Linked DNA regions of Homo sapiens: region 1 is linked to region 2. Evidence: promoter capture Hi-C in 16 types of primary human blood cells and fetal thymus (Javierre and others, 2016). All regions are on one chromosome and are shown on one strand. The core of a region is centred on a gene start or on the middle of the fragment in contact, and the rest is flanking DNA. Distances in the headings are between cores, read along the strand shown.

What was found. Contacts are between HindIII fragments. The CHiCAGO score rates a contact against its expected background, and 5 or more counts as called.
Region 1: the fragment with the promoter of MAST1 here is called in contact with the fragment with the promoter of S1PR5 in region 2 in 1 of 17 cell types (total CD4 T cells); the score reaches 6.1 in total CD4 T cells.

What each region holds. Positions count from the first base shown.
Region 1 is chr19:12,836,629-12,840,962 of GRCh38, reverse strand. It overlaps MAST1 (microtubule associated serine/threonine kinase 1), which reads right to left and starts at 2,448. Exons shown (of 26, transcript NM_014975.3): 1 at 2,308-2,448; 2 at 429-517. The coding sequence starts at 2,390. RefSeq lists an enhancer at 402-461 and silencers at 2,368-2,417, 2,468-2,647, 2,652-2,835. The HindIII fragment of the contact is 9,607 bases long and covers 1-3,497 here.
Region 2 is chr19:10,514,964-10,519,414 of GRCh38, reverse strand. S1PR5 (sphingosine-1-phosphate receptor 5) reads left to right here and starts at 1,968. Exons shown (of 2, transcript NM_030760.5): 1 at 1,968-2,017; 2 at 4,386-4,451. The coding sequence starts at 4,404. RefSeq lists enhancers at 61-623, 3,491-4,084, 4,085-4,451. The HindIII fragment of the contact is 9,669 bases long and covers 1-3,150 here.

The DNA.
Region 1 (4,334 bases), core at 1,199-3,698, 2.3 Mb before region 2:
TCAGGTCTCTCGTTCCCTAAAGCGGCGTGCAAACAGCAGCATGTCCTGTCTTTAGTCTAGTCCCGCCTATTATGGGGAGACCACGCCCCTTCGCCTGTGGCCCCGCCTCTCTAAATTTTTTCGTTGCCGAGTCAGCCTGGCCCCTTCCAAGACGATTCTGGCTTCATCTGGGATGGCCCCGCCCCTCAGGTACGACTCCTCCTTTCTGTCCGTCCCACCTGAGTCTCCGCCCACCTGAGTCTCCGCCCCCCAATGACCGTCCCTCTGCGACTGACCACACCCACACAAGCATGGCCCCGCCCCTTATCCAAACTGGTTCGCCTCCATTCAAACTGCGCCCCTTCTGTAGCATGACCACGCTTCCTCGCCTGAGGCCCCGCCTACTGTAGGCCAGTCTGCACCCACCAAGTCTCTACCACTGGCCTCACCTAGGTGACCTGGCAGCGGGGAGTGGGGTCTCGGTAGCGTGGGTGAAGTGCTGGTCAGGATGAGGCTTTTCCGATTACTGGTGCGGCAGCTGCGGGGAAGGTAAGGCAGGGGGGCCGGGCCGGGCCGCAGCCCAGTGAGTTCTTGAGCCCCACCAGCTGACCTCCTGTCTCAGATCCCCGCCTATCTCCCATCCATGTGTGTTTGGAGGCTCCCTGGGAGGGTTTCTCGAAGAAAGGTGGTGCAGGCCTCGGCAGGACTGTGTACGGCAGGGGATGTGCATATGACATGTGTGTGAGAAACTCTCAGTATGGATTATGTGTAGGGCAGTGTCTGTCATGGTGTGATAGTCACTGTGTCTAGGTGACACCATTGGTGATACTGAGCGTGTCTCAGTCTATGCGTGACATTCACTGTAGGTATCCACGTGTGGTATCCACTGTATGAATTCAACAATGTGTGACGCTGAATGCATTCTAGTGTGATACGTGTGACACAACGTGGGTTTATCTTGTGTGATACAATTTGAGCATTTGTGTGTCTATGTGACACAGTGTGAAATGCCACTTGTCCATAACAATGTGTGCTGTAACACAGGCAGGTTGTATTATTATTATTTTTTTTCTTTTAAATCAATGTCTCGCTCTGTCGCCCGGCTGGAGTGCAGTGTGCAGTGGCTCACTGCAGCCTCAAACTCCTGGGCTCAAGCAATCCTCCCGCCTCACCTCACCCTCCTGAGTAGCTGGGACTACAGGTGCCTGCCACCATGCCTGGCCAGGATGCATGATCCCCCCTACATGTATCTATGTCTTTGTGTGGCATTCTGAGTCTGTGTCCGATACTGTCCTTCCGTCTGGGTGTGACATTCACCATGCTTGTCCATGTGTATGTAGCATCTATTGTGTGAATTTAACATCTTGTGACACTGTGTCCAAACATGTCACCACATTTGACATTCTCTAGGTGAGTCTTGCAATGTGATAACATGTGATTTTGCGTGGTTCTGTCTCTGCAAGATCCCTACATCTGTTTATCCTGATGTCAGTGTGACATAGTATGTGAGATACCTAGATATGACATCGTGTGTTGTGACATTCTTGGATGCATGGATGGGATATTGAAACACATGTTTGCATCTTGGATGACATAACTGTGTGTGTGTGGATCGCCATGTAAGTGACATCTTACTAGGTGTACACGACGTGGTGCCCCTGTGTGTCTGTGCATGGTTCTGACCTGTGGCAGCTGCAAGGCTAGGTATGTGTGGCACCTCCCAGTGTATCTGGGCCACTAGGGCTGTTGTGTGTATGTGTGTGACATCATGTCCTGTGTGACGCTGTGTGTCACTATTTTCAGTGTAAGGCTGTGTTCGGGGGGGGGGGTTGTGTTATGATAAACCCCCCCTTTTTTCTACCCCTCAGCATCCAGCTCCCGAAGAGGGAGCCCCAAGCCCCTCCGTCCGTCCCCTCACCCACAGCCGCAGTGACTGAGCATATTAGCGCGTCCAGGAGCACGCGGCATGGGGGTGGGGGGAGGCCAGGCTGCGGCTATTGTTCTGAGGGTGCCAAGCCCCCCAGCCTCCCCTTCTTCCTCTACCCCCACCAGGCTGTTGGAGCCCGCAGCGCCAGCAGACAAAGGCGCCACAAACCCCCAGTGGCGCAGCCCCCTCCCCCCGCGGCCGTCCTCTCCAGCGTGCAAGCCCCCCAGACTCGGCCCACACCACCCCCCATTCAACCCCAACCCCGGCGGGAAGGCGCAGCTGGGGCACCTCTGGCGCAGCTGGACCGGGCGCAGCATCCCGGGCCCCGCCCTGCAGCAGTACCCGGAGCGGCGGCTTTTGCGGGGAGGGCCGGGACAATGTCTAGGGGATCGGGGGTCTACCTCTTGGTGCGGCGGAACATACTGCCGCCGGGGAAGGAGGGCATCGAGAAATTAGAAAGCGCGGTCCAGAGAGAGTCAGACATGACCCGGCGGCGGCGACATGGTGGCAGGTGCGGCAGCAGCGGCGGAGGCGGCGGCGGCGGCGGCGCGGGGAGCAAGCGCGCGGGGCGGAGGCTGCAGCCGCCGCAGCGGGCAGGGGAGGGCAGGGAAGGGGAGGGCCCTGCGGCTGCAGCCGGCCGGGAGGGGGCGCTGCTGCGTGCCGGCGAGCCAGGCCCCGCCCGCGCACTCGCCTGGCGCCCCCACCCCGGCGGGAGAAGGGGCGGCCAGCCCCCGCCACGTCTCTCCCCAGGCTCACCTGCTGCTTTTCCGGGGCAGGGGCAAATCCTTCTGGAAGGCAAAGGGGCAAAACGATGAAGGTCAGCGTGGACCTGCCGTTGCTGCCCACAAGCATTATCAACTCCCTGGAGGAGCAGAAGCAGGGTAAGACAGGCCCCTCTTCAGCACTGTCACTTTCACCCTTGGCCATGCACTGCGGGCCAAGTTTCTTGGGGGAGAGGATCCCTGGGTGATTCCTCTCCTGACCCTCAGAGACCAACAGAGGCCCACGTACACAGGCGGGGCGCCATATAAAGGCAAGTGAGTTGGCATATCAGCGTGTGTTTGTGCAAATGAAATAGGAATCATTATTTGAAAAATATGTCTTGAGCACCTACTGTATGCTGACCCAATCCTAGGCACTAGGGACACAGTAGTGAATAAATTACAAGTCCGGTGTGGTGGTGTGCACCTCTAGTCCCAGCTACTTGGGAGGTTGAGGCAGGAGAATCGCTTGAGTCCAAGGAAACACCAGCGTGGGCAACACAGCAAGACTCTCTGTCTCAAGGAGAAAAAAAAAAAAGTTTCTGGCCTTTTGGGACTAGTATTTATAGGGTAAAGGGGACATTAAACAAGATTAGTGTAGAAGTGAACGAAATCATTTTAGACAATAATTAGTCTTATGAATAAATTAAACAGGGTGATGTGATGGACAATGGCTAGGATGGAGACACATTGTCAGACAGGGCTGCTCTGTGGAGGTGACTTTTAAGCTGGTTGCTGAAAGATAAGAGCCAGCCATGGGAGGATCTGTGGAGAGAGCATTCCAGGTGGAGGGAACTGCAAGGGCAAAGGCCTGGAGGCGGGAATAAGCTTAGCGTACTCAATGAATGAATGAAAGGTTGAATGAATGAAAGGTTGAAAGAATGAATGACTCATCTACACCTCAGCAGATCTATCTGACTCCCAGCTAGAGTCATAGAGTTGGGGTAGGGGGTGGGGGGTAGGTAAGTAGAGTGACTCACAACTGAGATTTAAAATGGGAACCACGGAGGCTGAGGTGGGAGAATCTCTTGAGCTCAGGAGGTCGAGGTTATAGTGAACTATGATTGCACCACTGCTGGAGTAAGACACCCTCTCAATTAACAATAAATAAATAAATAATAAAAAGTTTAAAAAATAAAAAAATAAAAATGGAAATTCAGGTGATGGCCGCATAGTCATTTTTTATAATGACAATAATAATAATTAGTGAGTATTAACTTTATGTGTCTGCATTTGAAGAAGGTCACCTTCCATTTGTCAAGCTCTTAGGAAGTCACTGTAGGGATCAGGAGATATGGGGTCTTGGCTTTTTTCTGAGGAAAGGAATGGGGTACAAGGGGCAACACCTGCCAGCCAGTTTTCTATCCACAGGGTGAGGTGGAAGGAAGGAAACTGAGTGGGGCTGCAGGTGGAAAGATTTGGGGGAGAGTTTCAAAAGGCCTTTGGAGGGGACTCCAACAAAAGGAAAATGAGGGATGTCCTAGACATTTCTAGGATCTCTAAAAGCAAAAAGCCTAGGTTCAAATCTCAATTCTGCTTTTTATGACCTTGGCAAATGACCTTCCAATAGTCCCGTGTCTCCTTGAGGATCTTAGGAGTTGATGCAGATGCCTAGCCCCTTAGCATGGTGCCTAGCACATAGCAAGTGCTCAATAAATACTAAGTCT
Region 2 (4,451 bases), core at 719-3,218:
ACTTACTCTGAGAAACACAGGGAGCCACGGGAGGGTTTGGAGCAGAAAAGAAATGTGATCTGAGTTTTAAGAACTGTGGCCAGGAGTGTGGAGTGGCAGCTAGGGATGGGACTCCCAACATCTGTCGAGATCCTGGAGCCTGAGTCCCCAGGGTCCCAATTCGTGGGAAAGAAGTTCAGGGAGGCAGCTGGAGAGGCAGGTTGCTGAGCCCGGGACCCGCAGCCGGAAGAGCCCCATTTTCGAGAGAAGTGAGATTGGCGCCTGGGAGGTGTGAAGCAGCCACCTCCCCACCCTGGGGCGCGGCTTCCCCTTTACAGAAGGAGGTCATTTATTGAGCACCTACTGGGTGCCAGCCACAGCCATGCTGGGAGATCTTCAGGGGTCATCCCAGTGGGCACCATTGGAGTTGGCTTGGTCCACAGGACTGGGGAACCTGGCACTGAAGGGTTAACACCGTCCCACCCTGCGGGTCCCATTGGCTGTGTCTTTGAGCAGAGCAGGCAGGAAAGGTTCTGCCCACCGAGGGAACAGCGGGGGCAGGAGGGCTGGGATCCCCAAGGGGCTACATGGGGGCCTGACCCGGCCTGAGTGCCCCCTGAGTTTCCTCCCACGAGGGTATCCCGGATCCACACTTATTCTCAGCCTCTGGCTCATCTCTCCTGGGGCGCCCTCACCCCACCCGCGGCCAGCAGGGCCTGAAGCATCAGGGGCAAAGGGCACGGTCCTGGAGAAGGTCGCAGCAGCGGGACCCAGCCTCCCTTCCTGAATCTGAGGGTGGAAGAGCTGGGACCGTCTGGAAGTTCCTGGGAAGTCGGGGTGGGGGCGTTTCGGGGCCAGCGGGACTGGTCGTTGGAGGAGCAGTGGCCTGGGAGAGGCGTGGGAGAGCATCACAGACAGCAACAAAGAGACACGCAGAGGCAAAGAGACACGCAGAGACAAAGAGACACGCAGGCGAGAGACTCTGAGATCCTCCTGAGAGAGATACAGAGGAAGTGAGGGAGACACTCATTCATTATCTGGGCATGGTTGCAAGCGACTGGAGTCCCAGCAGCTACGTTCAGCCGGCTGAGATGGGAGGATGGCTTGAGCCGCGGAGGTCGAGACTGCAGTGACTTATGATGTTGCCACTGCACTCCACTCTGGGCCACAGAGCAAGATCTTGTCTCAAAAAAAAAAAAAAAAAAGAAATTCTTACATTGCTGGGGTTTACTGTCTGCTAAGGACACAGCCCAGAAACACCATTAATGAGTAAATCACTTTGTCGTCAGCGATAAGGGTGGGAGAGAATCGGTCGGGGGAACACGGAATCCAGGGGGTGGGACAGGAGAGACCCTCCTTATCTGAGGAGCGGCAAGTTCCCATCACAATCCTGCCCGGGCCCGCCCCACCCCCACTCGCCCTGAGCCGGGGGCGGGAGCGGGAAATTGGGAGGGGCCTGTGCCCGGGAGCAGCGGGAACCTATCTGCTGGTGGGAGAGGACTCAGGCTAAGGTGGCCCCCACTGAAGACTCCTGCTAAGCAACCCACTGAAGACCCCTCCGAATCATCGACGGGGCGTCCTTGGGGTGCAGCCCAGGAAGCTCAGTTCACAGGTGGGTGGGCAATGGGAGGGCGCAGTGCCCGGACACCCAGGACAGAGGAGACCCCTCCGCTGGGGAGAAGAGGCTCAGGCTGCGACCGCCCTGCTGCAGAACCCTCCCTTTCCCGCCTCTCCGAGTCCTCCCACCGCGATGGAGCGTCCCTGGGAGGACAGCCCAGGCCCGGAGGGGGCAGCTGAGGGCTCGCCTGTGCCAGTCGCCGCCGGGGCGCGCTCCGGTGCCGCGGCGAGTGGCACAGGCTGGCAGCCATGGGCTGAGTGCCCGGGACCCAAGGGGAGGGGGCAACTGCTGGCGACCGCCGGCCCTTTGCGTCGCTGGCCCGCCCCCTCGCCTGCCAGCTCCAGCCCCGCCCCCGGAGCGGCGTCCGCTCACTCGGTTCAAGGCAGCGCGACTGCGGGTGGCGCACGACCAGGGCGCAGAGTGAGTGGACTGCACTGGACCTTTGGGGGCGCTGGGCTGGGCCTGACCCGGAGGGGGTCGCCCTGGCGGCCACTTTCCCGGTCTAAAAAGGCGCACCACTCCTTGCAGGGAGTTCTCCGAACTTTTCCTGGAGGCCTCTGGGGAGGGGGAAGCTGGGGGCTCCCCAGCTGGGTGCAGGACCTGGGATACGGGGTGAAGGTGGCTGGAATCCCCTGGCCACCCCCTCCTGGCCGGGCCACTGCAAGTTTCCATACTTCAGTCCTGCTGCCGGGCAAGCTGGGCGGATGGGGTTGGCCTCCCCCTCAGAGCATGTGTAACCCTGTCTCCCTGTATTTGGGCTCCCCACCTCCAGCATGGGTGAGCCAGCGACTTCCTGTCTATGTTTGCCTGCCTTGATTCTCTGTGTGTGACTGAAGCTCTCTGGGATGTCCGCATCCCTGCCTTGTGCAAAAGAGATCCATTCCCCTCCCCAGGCCTTGGCTTTCTCATCTGGACTTGCATGGGGACTATTTGTGCATGGATGTTTGTGTGGGAGCATGGAAACCTTTGCGCCTGCTTCGATACGAAGCATTTCTTTTGAGCTTCAGTTTTCTCATCTGTAAATTAGGACTAAAGGAAGTGGGGATTAATAAGGTCACAGAGGCAGGTGAGGAGTGTTATTACAGTTTAATGACATGTGTGCCCCTCTGTAAGAGTCTGTTTGCCTCTTGTGGATTCTCTCTCCTGTCCTCAGGCTCTGCCTTAGTAAAATGAGTGAATAGGATCAACTTTTTTTTTTTTTTTTTTTTTTGAGACGGAGTTTCTCTCTTGTCACCCAGGCTGGAGAGCAGGGGTGCGATCATGGCTCACTGCAGCCTCGGCCTCCCAGGCTCAAGTGATCCTCCCGCCTCAGTCTCTTGAGTAGCTGGGACTATAGGGGCATAACACCACACCTGGCTAATTTTTAAATTTTTTTGTAGAGATGAAGTCTTAGTATGTTGCCCAAGCTGGTGTCGAACTCCTGGGCTCAAGTGATACTCCCACCTCGGCCTCCCAAAGTGCTGGGATTACAGGCGAAAGCCACTGTGCCTGGCCAAGGAGCAACTTTCTCATGGGGTTTTGGGTGGATGAGGGGGTTTTGGCAGGAAAAAGCTTTGTATGCAGTGAGACAAGAGTGTGGAGTGTGGTGCACTGGGCCCCAGGCTAGTGTGAGTGGAGGTTGTGAAATTGTGGCCTGTGCCACTGGGTGGGAGACCCTGTATTCGTGTGACTGAATTTTGGTCGCTGTGTTTTTCTGCCTGCGTCACTCTGTTCCTGTATGATGTATTTTTTAGTTTCCCTGATAGTGTGTGACTGTGTGTTTTGCCCTTGTAGTGTGTCGCTGTATTTGTGTGTCTCTTTCTGTGTGTGTTGCGTTTGTGTGCGTTCTGTGTGTTTACTGTTACGTCTCTGGAACTCCCTGCTTGTGTGTTTGTGTGTGTGTGTTTGAGACAAAGTCTTGCTCTGTTGTCCTGGCTGGAGTACAGTGGCACAATCAATGCTCACTGACTGCAGCCTTGACCCCGCGGGCTCAAGTGATCCTCTCACCTCAGCTGGGACTCCACTGAGTAGCTTGGACTATAGGCATACACCAACACGTCCCGGCTAATTTTTGTAGAAACGGGGTTCTCCTATGTTGTCCAGGCTAATCTCGAACTCCTGGGCCTCAAACAATCCTCCCGCCTCAGCCTCCCAAAGTGCTGGAATTACAGGAGTGAGCCACCACACCCAGCCGTGTGTGTGTTTGGTGGGGAGGGGGGGTGTTTTGAGACAGAGTCTCGCTCTGCCACCTAGGTTGGAGTGCAGTGATGCGATCTCGGCTCACTGCAACCTCCGCCTCCTGGGTTCAAATGATTCTTCTGCCTCAGCCTCTGGAGTAGCTGGGACTACAGGCACGTGCCACCATGCCTGGCTAATTTTTTGTGTTTTTAGCAGAGACGGAGGGGTTCACCGTGTTAGCCAGGATGGTCTCGATCTCCTGACCTCGTGATCTGCCCCCCTTGGCCTCCCAGGCCTGAGCCACTGCCTCAGGCCTGAGCCTGGGGGGATTACAGGCGGGGATTACAGGCCTGAGCCACCGCGCCCAGCCATGTGTGAACCACCGCGCCCAGCCATTCATGTGTTATTAATGTCCCTTTTTTTGGGACTATGTCACCTTGTTCCCTCGTGATATTATTTGTGTGTATGTCTGTCTCCACGGACTCTATCCCTCCATCCTGAACTCCCCCTTGGACACCATGTATAGGGGGTGATGGTCAGTGGGTAGGGCCCCTTTCCCACGACTTAGCCGGCTGCTGCGAGCGTGCTTACGGGGACCGCGGCCTGACACCGTATCTTGCCTCTCCAACAGCCTTGGGGCGCGCGGCCCATGGAGTCGGGGCTGCTGCGGCCGGCGCCGGTGAGCGAGGTCATCGTC